3 separate regions of the Homo sapiens genome follow, and all the other regions are linked to region 2. The links are contacts of gene promoters, found by promoter capture Hi-C in blood cells and fetal thymus (Javierre and others, 2016). All regions are on one chromosome and are shown on one strand. Each heading gives the region's core, a stretch centred on a gene start or on the middle of the fragment in contact. The rest is flanking DNA. Distances are from core to core; before and after follow the strand shown. Region 1 overlaps MOV10L1 (Mov10 like RNA helicase 1). Region 2 holds the start of TUBGCP6 (tubulin gamma complex component 6). Region 3 overlaps MOV10L1 (Mov10 like RNA helicase 1).

Evidence for each region. The method cuts DNA at HindIII sites, captures the fragments that hold promoters and counts their contacts. A CHiCAGO score of 5 or more calls a contact.
Region 1: a fragment that was not itself captured here is called in contact with the fragment with the promoter of TUBGCP6 in region 2 in 1 of 17 cell types (neutrophils); the score reaches 8.5 in neutrophils.
Region 3: a contact is called between a fragment that was not itself captured here and the fragment with the promoter of TUBGCP6 in region 2, in 8 of 17 cell types (monocytes, M0 macrophages, neutrophils and 5 more). The highest score is 8.7, in monocytes.

The regions. Positions count from the first base shown.
Region 1 is chr22:50,123,236-50,126,337 of GRCh38, forward strand. It overlaps MOV10L1 (Mov10 like RNA helicase 1), which reads left to right. Exons shown (of 27, transcript NM_018995.3): 11 at 2,157-2,334; 12 at 2,967-3,037. Among named protein-coding and RNA genes, the nearest start is that of MOV10L1, 35 kb to the left of the region's middle. The HindIII fragment of the contact is 4,552 bases long and covers 1-3,102 here.
Region 2 is chr22:50,243,767-50,246,528 of GRCh38, forward strand. TUBGCP6 (tubulin gamma complex component 6) reads right to left here and starts at 1,257. Exons shown (of 25, transcript NM_020461.4): 1 at 1-1,257. The coding sequence starts at 693. HDAC10 (histone deacetylase 10) reads right to left here. Exons shown (of 20, transcript NM_032019.6): 17 at 2,532-2,610; 18 at 2,144-2,326; 19 at 1,909-2,061; 20 at 1,417-1,764. The coding sequence ends at 1,741. RefSeq lists enhancers at 1-776, 350-629, 1,040-1,089 and a silencer at 1,560-1,629. The HindIII fragment of the contact is 66,555 bases long and covers 1-2,762 here.
Region 3 is chr22:50,151,065-50,153,811 of GRCh38, forward strand. MOV10L1 (Mov10 like RNA helicase 1) reads left to right here. Exons shown (of 27, transcript NM_018995.3): 22 at 1,981-2,154. Among named protein-coding and RNA genes, the nearest start is that of PANX2, 18 kb to the right of the region's middle. The HindIII fragment of the contact is 3,821 bases long and covers 1-2,747 here.

The DNA.
Region 1 (3,102 bases), core at 435-2,934, 120 kb before region 2:
TATTGAGATGATCATATGATTTTTTTTCCTTCTGTTAATGTGTGTTGCTACAGTAATTGATTTTCAAATGTTGAACTATCCTTGCATTCCAGGAATAAATTCCACTTGATCATAGCATGTAATCCTTTTATTTTATATATGTTTTTTGAGACAGGGTCTCACTGTGTTGCCCAGGCTGGAGTGCAATGGCTCAGTCACTGCTCACTGCAGCCTCGAGCTCCTGGGCTCAAGCAATCCTCCCACCTCAGTCTCCCAAGTAACTGGGACTACAGGAATGAGCCACCACACCCAGCTAATCCTTTTCATATGCTGCTGAATTTTGTGTGCTAGTATCGTGTTGAGGATTTTTTCATCAGTGTTCATATTGGTCTGTAGTTTTCTTTTCCTGAAGTGTCTCTGTCTGGCTTTGGGATCAGGGTAATGCTGGCCTCATAAGAATAAGTCAGAGAGTATTCCCTCCTCTTGAATTTTTTGGAAAAGTTTGAGAAAGATTGGTATTAGTTAGTCTTCAAATGTTTGGTAGAATTTAGCTATGGAGCCATCAGGTCCTGGGGTTTTCCTTTTCAGAATATTTATTACTGCTTTAACCTCCTTAGTAGTAATTGGTCTATTCAGATTTTCTTTCTTCATGGTTTAGTCTTGGTAGGTTTTGTGTTTCTAGGAATTTGTCCATTTCATCTGGGTATTGGTATACGATTGCTCATACTCTTATAATCCTTTTTATTTCCGTAGATTCTGTAGTAATGTTCCCACTTTCCTATCTTATTTTAGTAATTTGTCTTTCCCTTTTTTCTAGTTAATCTACTAAAAGTCTGTCAATTTTGTTGATCTTTTTGGAGAACCAACTTTTTGTTTTCCTGGTTTTCTGTATTGTTTTTCAGTTCTCTCTTTTGTTCATCTCTCCTCTAATCTTTATTTCCTTCCTTCTGCTATCTTTGGGTTTAGTTTGTTCTCCTTTGTCTAATTCCTTGCAGTGCTCATGGGAATCAGTGCTCATAGTCACAAATTCCCTCAGCACTGCTTGTGCTGCTCCCATAAGTCTTGCTGTATTGTGTTTTTGTTTTTATTCATCTCCTAAGTATTTTTTAGTTTTTCTTATGGGGTTCTTTTGCTTTAATTCTTATCTTTGCTCTTTTGCACATAACGTTGTTTTTTCTTAGCTGCTTTTAAGATTCTCTCTTTTATCACTGATATTAATAGATTTGGTTTACGATGTGTGGTGGTAGAGATTCTTTTCTTCCTGTTCTTGTGCTTGGGGTTCATTGGGATTCTTGAATATGCGGCCTTGAGTTTTCTTCAGATTTGGAAATTTTCAGCCACCATGTGTTCAGACGCACTTTCTGCCCTCCCACTTTCCAATTCCGGGCAGGCTGCTGTGAGTTTTCCCCCACCTCATGCTGAGGCCCTGGTCTGGCCCCTCAATGGGTTTTGCAGGATGGTGTCTCATGCATTCCTTAGTGCTGAGCTGATGGTCCTGAGTGGGTCCCCTGACCCTCTCCAGACCACTCTGTGCTGCTTGCTCTTCCCAGCGCTCAGCCCCACAGATCAGAGCTCCTCTCCTTAGAAACCATGCAGCATCCCTGGGTCCTCTGTGCTGGGGCCTAGGAGCTCTGTTCAGGCACAGGTGGATCAGTCATGGGGCCCCCATGGATTGTTTCCCCAGTCTTGGGATCACAATCCTTTGCTACGTGATGTTCATTGTTTAAACACCATCGTTTCTTATTTCTCTGTCTCTTTAAGTTTTTTTCAGGTAGAAGGGTAAATCTGGTCCTTGTTAGTCCACCTTGGCCAGACCTGGAAGTTTGTCCTTTTTTCACAGATGTCTGTGGAAGCCAAATTCTGCCTTCCCAGAATTAACGTGGACAACCTGAAAAAGAGCAGGGAGGGTGGACAGGAGTGGGCAGTGCAGGGAGGGACACCGCCAGCTGGAGCCCCACTGCCTCATGCCAAAGGCCAGGGAGTGTGCTGGAGCCCCATGGCCCTCGTGCTGAAGGCCGGGGAACTTACTGAGGCACCTGCAGACTCCGGCGAGGATCGCCCCACCTGGGGGGCCATCTGCTGAACTGGAGCTGTTGGAACTTTCCTGCTCCGGAGCTGCTACTTTCCAGAGTGCTGCTGAGCTGTTGCTGACTTTATAACATTTGGGTGTTTTCCAGCTTCTGAACATGTCAAATTACAAGGAGAAGTTTTCGACTTTGCTGTGGCTTGAGGAGATTTATGCAGAAATGGAACTGAAAGAGTATAACATGAGCGGGATCATCTTAAGAAGGAATGGGGATCTGCTGGTTCTGGAGGTCCCAGGGTTGGCCGAAGGGAGGCCTTCTCTCTACGCAGGTGTGTTTGTTACTCATATGCTTCCCTGGGTGGACTAGCAGAGAAACCATACTTGAGAGAAGATACTCTTTAACTGGCAATATGACAGTCACATTATCGCATTTTCTTTCTTTTGGGTTAGAATTTCACTAAAAATCAGCAACCGATGTACATCAAGCATGTTTCTTTGTTGTATTTCATTAGTTGTAAGCAGTTGACCCCAGTAATGTTTTTGTTTGTTTGTTTGTTTGTTTTTTGAGGTGGAGTCTCGCTGTGTCGCCCAGGCTGGAGTGCAGTGGCGCAATCTCAGCTCATTGCAACCTCTGCCTCCCGGGTTCACGCCGTTCTCCTGCCTTAGCCTCCCGAGTAGCTGGAACTACAGGCGCCCGCCACCACACCCGGCTGATTTTTTTTTTTGTATTTTTAGTAGAGATGAGGTTTCGCCGTGTTAGCCAGGATGGTCTCGATCCCCTGACCTTGTGATCCGCCCGCCTCGGCCTCTCAAAGTGCTGGGATTACAGGCATGAGCCACTGCACCCAGCCTGACCCCAGTAACGTTTTATTGAACCTCCTCAGTGTTGGATTTTATAGGACAGCACAGAAATTTGTGATTTTGTGTTAGCTTTAAACATGGTAATATATTTTTTAACTAGGTGATAAACTGATTTTAAAAACTCAAGAGTACAATGGACATGCCATCGAATACATCAGCTACGTGACTGAGGTGAGAGCACTCTCTCTTAATGAGTTTGTGTTAGACACACCCTTCTGACCGGTTGGAAAGGTAAC
Region 2 (2,762 bases), core at 7-2,506:
GCCCAGTCGGACGTCCATGTCATAAGTGCGGCTGTGCACAAGGGCCCCGAAGAGCGAGACCCGGGTGTCTCTCTCGAACCTGTCACCACAAGGGTCACCAAATGAGAAGAGCCCGACGGTGGGCAGGCCAGTGCCTGGAGCAGCCTCCATAACCTGAAGTGTTTCCTGGATCATGCTGTGACACAAACACTCTTCTCTGGAGATCAGAGACTGAACGTCCATCTCAAACACACTCAGGTCGTCGCAATCATAGCCGCTGTACGGAACGTTTCTCCCCACATGCTTGTTGTTAAGGAAGTAGTCTCGTTTTCTCGGCAGAACTTGAGGGGGACCACTCCCTGCCAGCTGAACCAGGAGGTCCAAAACAGACCCCACCTCCAAAAGCGGACAGCAAGGGGCTGCTTCCAGCTCCTCCACAAGCTCCTCCAAACGGTCGGCCTTGGGGCCCAGGCCACCCACTCTCAAGTCAAAGGACAACATGAGGATCTTGTTTCTCGCTGGTAGTTTTGACATGTCAGGCTGCAGCTGTTGAGTCTCATCTTGAAAAAGATTTGTGAAAAGAGCATTGTAGGCCACCTTCTTGAGGCTCCGCTTTGCCCTCTTCCGGTTCACACTGCGCTGGCCCAGGTGAGTCTTGGCAGCCGGCAGGAGGGCCTCACACAGGTCGTCGAACAGCTGCGTGATGCTGGCCATGCCCCTTCTCAGCTCCGGGCCCCCGGCGTGTGGGAAAACACCTCACCCGGGCTTCACTCACGCTCCGGAAGACAGGGAGTGAGAGAGGGTCCGAAGAGGCTGAATGACAGGCGGCCTCTCCAATGCCGAAGCTCAGAACTGGTATTTTTTAAAGGAGGTCTTGCGGTTGCTCTACTCAGAGTAAACACGCCCTGCCCTCCCCAGTCCAAGCACGCTGCCCGGCGCCCGGCAGCCCACCAGAAGCCAGCTCGGCGTTTCTTCTAATTCAGTAGCCCTCAACCTTTAGGGAGTCACAGAACCGTGGCAAAACCGAAGAACGAAACGCGCGCCCGCGCAGTACAGCGGACGAACTCGGCTTTGCACCCGTTCTTCGGGACCCACGAGAGGAGACGGCCAGGAGAGGGTGCCACTCCGAGGGTCGTGGGCAGCGGAGAGTCTGGGGGCTCAGCCGGGTGGGTCCCGGGTTCTGGCCTGCACGTCCACCCGTTCTCCAGGCCTCACCCGTGGAAAGTGCCCACGGCTGCCGCTCTCGCCGCCTCCGTCGCGTCACAGCCGCGCCAGTGTGAAGAGCACTAGGGCGGGCGCGCCGGAAATACGTCACGGGAACGCCGGCAGCGCGTGAAGTTGGTGAGGCCTGGGCCGCGGCATACTTCCGGCCTGAGTCCGGCACCGCGGGTGAGAGACCGAGGCCGAGCGTGCTCAGTAAAGGAGGCAGAGCCAGCGTTTCGTTTGAGCGATGTTTACTAACGGCGCAAGGGCGGGGAGCGAAGCGCAGCGGGGCGCAGGGGCCGGAACGGGACCGAGCGTGGGTTGCATGGGCCTCGATGGGACGGGCCGGGGCGCGATGGGTGGGGCGGGGGCGAGGTGAGGTGAGGGGTGGAGCGGGGGAAGCACGGGTGGGAGAGGGCGGGGCGCGGGGATTGGGAGTGGGCGGGGTTCCGTGCCCCAGAGTCGAGGGAGCCGTGGGCTTGGGGTCCGGATCGCGGCCGCGGGGCGCTGGCGTGCGGTGTCATTTCTGCGGTGTAAATGCTCCCACCTTGGCCGATTTCAAGCCACCAGGTGAGGATGGCACTACAGGAGGAGCCGAGAAGAGGCGCGCAGTTGGCCTCCGGCGCTGGAGCTGGTTCAGGGCACTCCCCTGCCCTGCCCTCCCCACCGATCTGTGCGGCAGAGCCAGGCCCCAGGGCAGGGCCATGCCTCCGCAGTCAGCCTCACCTGCAACATCTTCCACTGAGGCTCCAGCTGCCCTCTCAGGTACATCAGGGCCTGGACGTCCTCTGGGGAGGCCACAGAGGAAGGGCCTAGGCTAGGAGGTGCCTCTCCATTCAGCACCCGGGCCAGGATCCCTGCTAGCTGGGGTGTGGAGTTCTGGACCAGGGGCGAAGACGGAAGCAGTCACTGGTCCTTTCCCTCGTCCCACCCCGCAGCACCTCCACCCTGCCCAGCTTACCTCCTCCAGGAGGGCCAGGACTCGGCCCCCTGCCAGCCCCCGAAGCATTGCAGCCAGGAGTGCAGCGTGGGGGCCCTGCAGGCCATGGCCAGGCCCCAGCGCCACCAGCACCAGGTCAGGCTGGAAGCCATAGGCCAGGGGCAGCACCAAGCCCAAGATGCAGCTCAGGAAACCACCGGTCATCTGTGGGGACAGCAGAGCCCAGCTCCTCATCTACGGACACCTGCTGGCTCTGGCCTCCCAACCTCCCAATCTCAGGGCCCCTGGAGTAGGAGCAGGGAGACAGGAAGGACCAGAGGCCTGCTATCATGACAATGCCAGCAAACAGCAGCTGTACACATCCATGGGCTCCCCAGCACCTGCCTTGCCGCGTGGCATGGTCACTCACCACTGGCAGTGGCGTGGAGACATGGAACATGGATAGGGCAGCCGCCTCCTTGCCCCTGATGTTCAGCCACAGACTCCTCCTTCCAGGACACAGGTGCATAAGTGTAAGGCCCTGCTCACCCTCCTGAGCCCAAACCGCAGAGGCAGAGGTGGAAGAGCATTCACGGGGCCATGGGCAGGGGTGCTGTGACTGCTGAGCCTCTGTGCTGGAGACCCACCTGGCATTGCCTCC
Region 3 (2,747 bases), core at 20-2,519, 93 kb before region 2:
GGTGCTGATGGCTGAGACTCTGGGGTCAGATTCAGTAAAATAAGTTAAAATCTGTGTTACTCTGTTAACGTTAAGAAAAGCAAGAAATAATTTTTGTGACTTAAAAAGCCTGCCCTAGAGTGACTGCAGGCAGTGTCTCCTCAGTGGTCTCTGACCCCAAGGTCCCACTGAAGTGCAGGTCTGGGCTCTCAGCCAACCTTGCACCAAATTCTGAGGGATGGGCTTTGGGATTTGCATCTTTGGAGCCCCCAGCACACTGAGCTTGGGCCTCCAGGGCCCATCATTCAACAGTGAACCAAGTAGCCTCAGTTTGTAAGCCCCTGTAGCCCACAGAAAAACAGTCTCCATCTGATTCCCATTGCCAGTATTAACATCAATAGAAAATGAGGGGCAGTTACCATGGGCAGACTTTCAGGGAAAAGGACTGGACCCCATTCTTGGTTGTCAAGGGTAGGGAGCAGGTGGGGGTCTTCAGGCCAAGGAAGGCCTCATGAGGGACTACCCGCAAGACAGGACCGGCTGTGCCAGGAGGCCATGAAACTGCCCCCAGGAAGATGGCCGGCCGTGAGCAGCTGCTGGGCCCAGAGGGCGCCTGAGAGCTCTGCTGTCCCCCGGAGGTTCGCCTCATCCTCCAGTGCCGCTGTGCGCCTGTACCCGCTAGCTGCTTTGCTGGAGGTGTGGGTGCAGGTGACGTGGCCGCAGCAGGAGAGACCAGCACGCTGCCGTCCCCACCACACAGCCTTCAGGGCAGGTGCATACAGCACAGGGCCACAGGTACAGAAAGACCCTGCCGCACGGGAGGTGAAGGCCTTGTCCTGTGTGGGGCCTGGGCAGTGTCCTGCACCCTCCAACCAGAGCGGCTGCCACAGTGACCCCAGGAGGCTGCATGCTTCCTTTCTCTTCCCCAGCAGCTGCCCATGTCCAGCTAAGGCAGAGGTGCCGTGACTCTAGATCACATTTGGAGTTTGGAGTAGCACGTTGGAGGCTGGACACATTCTATTTAGGCTTGACAGAGTCGGGAGGACTCACGGGGCCAATCATGGCGTTCTCGTGCCAGTGTCATCTGGCGAGTAACAGACAGCACTGCAGGAACACAGGTTTTCACCAACAGGGGCTTTGTTAACTCATCCCAAGGAGGGAGAGCCCTAGGCTTGTTCTCCCCAGCAGTGTCTCCCCGAGGGACAGTCAGTGACAGGAGGGCAGAGGGTGCAGCATTGCATAGAGAGGACGGCTCCCCGCGGCACAGACGCAGCGAGTCCTCATGCCAATACATGGGTCACGTGATGAGCAGGGTCAAGACTGAGCATTGCTCTGACTGGTTGAACTCCTGTAGTCGCTGGAGACCCTCTCTGGCTGCTTACACCAGCACCAGGGGAAGAGCACCTGCCCTGAGTGAGCTTCCCGAGCAAGTTGGAGGCAGACAGTAAAGGTGTCCCATGTACTGGTGATATCACAGTCACCCTCAGCCGCATCAGTGAAGTCACAGCCAGGCCCGCCCAGGGCTGGCCAGGCCCCCAGAGTCACAGTGTCTATGCTCTCCTGGCCCAGGGGCCCAGGAGCTCTTCCTTCCCTGTGGCCAAGCGGAGGCAGGGCTGTGTGGGCCAACAAGATGCTGTTTCCAGGGTGAAGCTCTCAGCACACGAGGGAGGCATCCACCTGCCCTCCACCCGGCTGCTGGGTTCCAGGTGGCAGGAGCCCTTTAAGAGGCCCCTCAGCGGCACCCAGACCCAGGAGAGGAACAGAGGGCAGCCGTCACACCCTTTTCTTCCTGATGTTTCCATTTTCTATTCAGATGGACCCTTGGCTTGACCATCATCCAAGGGCTTGGTCTGGGGGCAGGCGACACACAGGGGCGCAGGAGCAGAGTCAGGCTTGGAAGTCAGGCAGGCCTCACGTTTGCTGTGCAGAGCCGCTTTTCGTTCGACAGAAACTGTGCCGGGTACCACCTTCCCCTTGTGACCCATCACCATCTCCTCGCAGGTCACAAAGCTGGTGAAGAACTACCGGTCCCACGAGGCCCTGCTGATGCTGCCCTCACGGCTGTTCTACCACAGGGAACTCGAGGTCTGTGCGGACCCCACAGTGGTGACCTCCTTGCTGGGCTGGGAGAAGTTGCCTAAGAAAGGCTTCCCTCTCATCTTCCATGGTGTGCGGGTGAGTTGTGTCTTGAATCCGTAGGTGACCGTGTCGGGTAAGGACAGTATGGCAGGAGGTCCTTCCTCCCAGGTGAGGCTCTGTCACCTGCCTGTGGCGGGGCAGATGTTCTGCTGGTCTCCAGAGAGTGAAAAGCCATCGGGGGCTTGTGCCCCCCAAGATGGATGCTGACTTCTCCTGCCAGATGAGTTGTGCCTGGCACCAAGGAGGCATCACAGGCACCACTCTCAGGTGGTCACAGCAGACAAGCACTGGGCTCCAAGAGAAGCGAAGCTGCCCAGTGAGCTCTGGAGGGCCTGGGGAAGCTCGCAGGGCCATGTGGCTGGGGACGCCCCAGGGCCGCAGGAAGCTCCCAGAGGCCACCACCGCCTCCCTCCCGGTGCTTCCCTCGAGGGTTGGAGCTGTCAGGAGAGAGCCCGGCAGGGAAGGCAGCAGCTGCGATCCCGAGCCGTGCGCCTGGGGCCTGAGGAGTGACGGGCCACCACCCCCTCTCCAAGGCCTCGCAGAGGGACAGAGTTAGATGCTGAGTGACCAAGCAAAATTACAAGCATTCGCTAAAATGAGATAGTTTGTATTAGGAGTTTAGTTAGAGC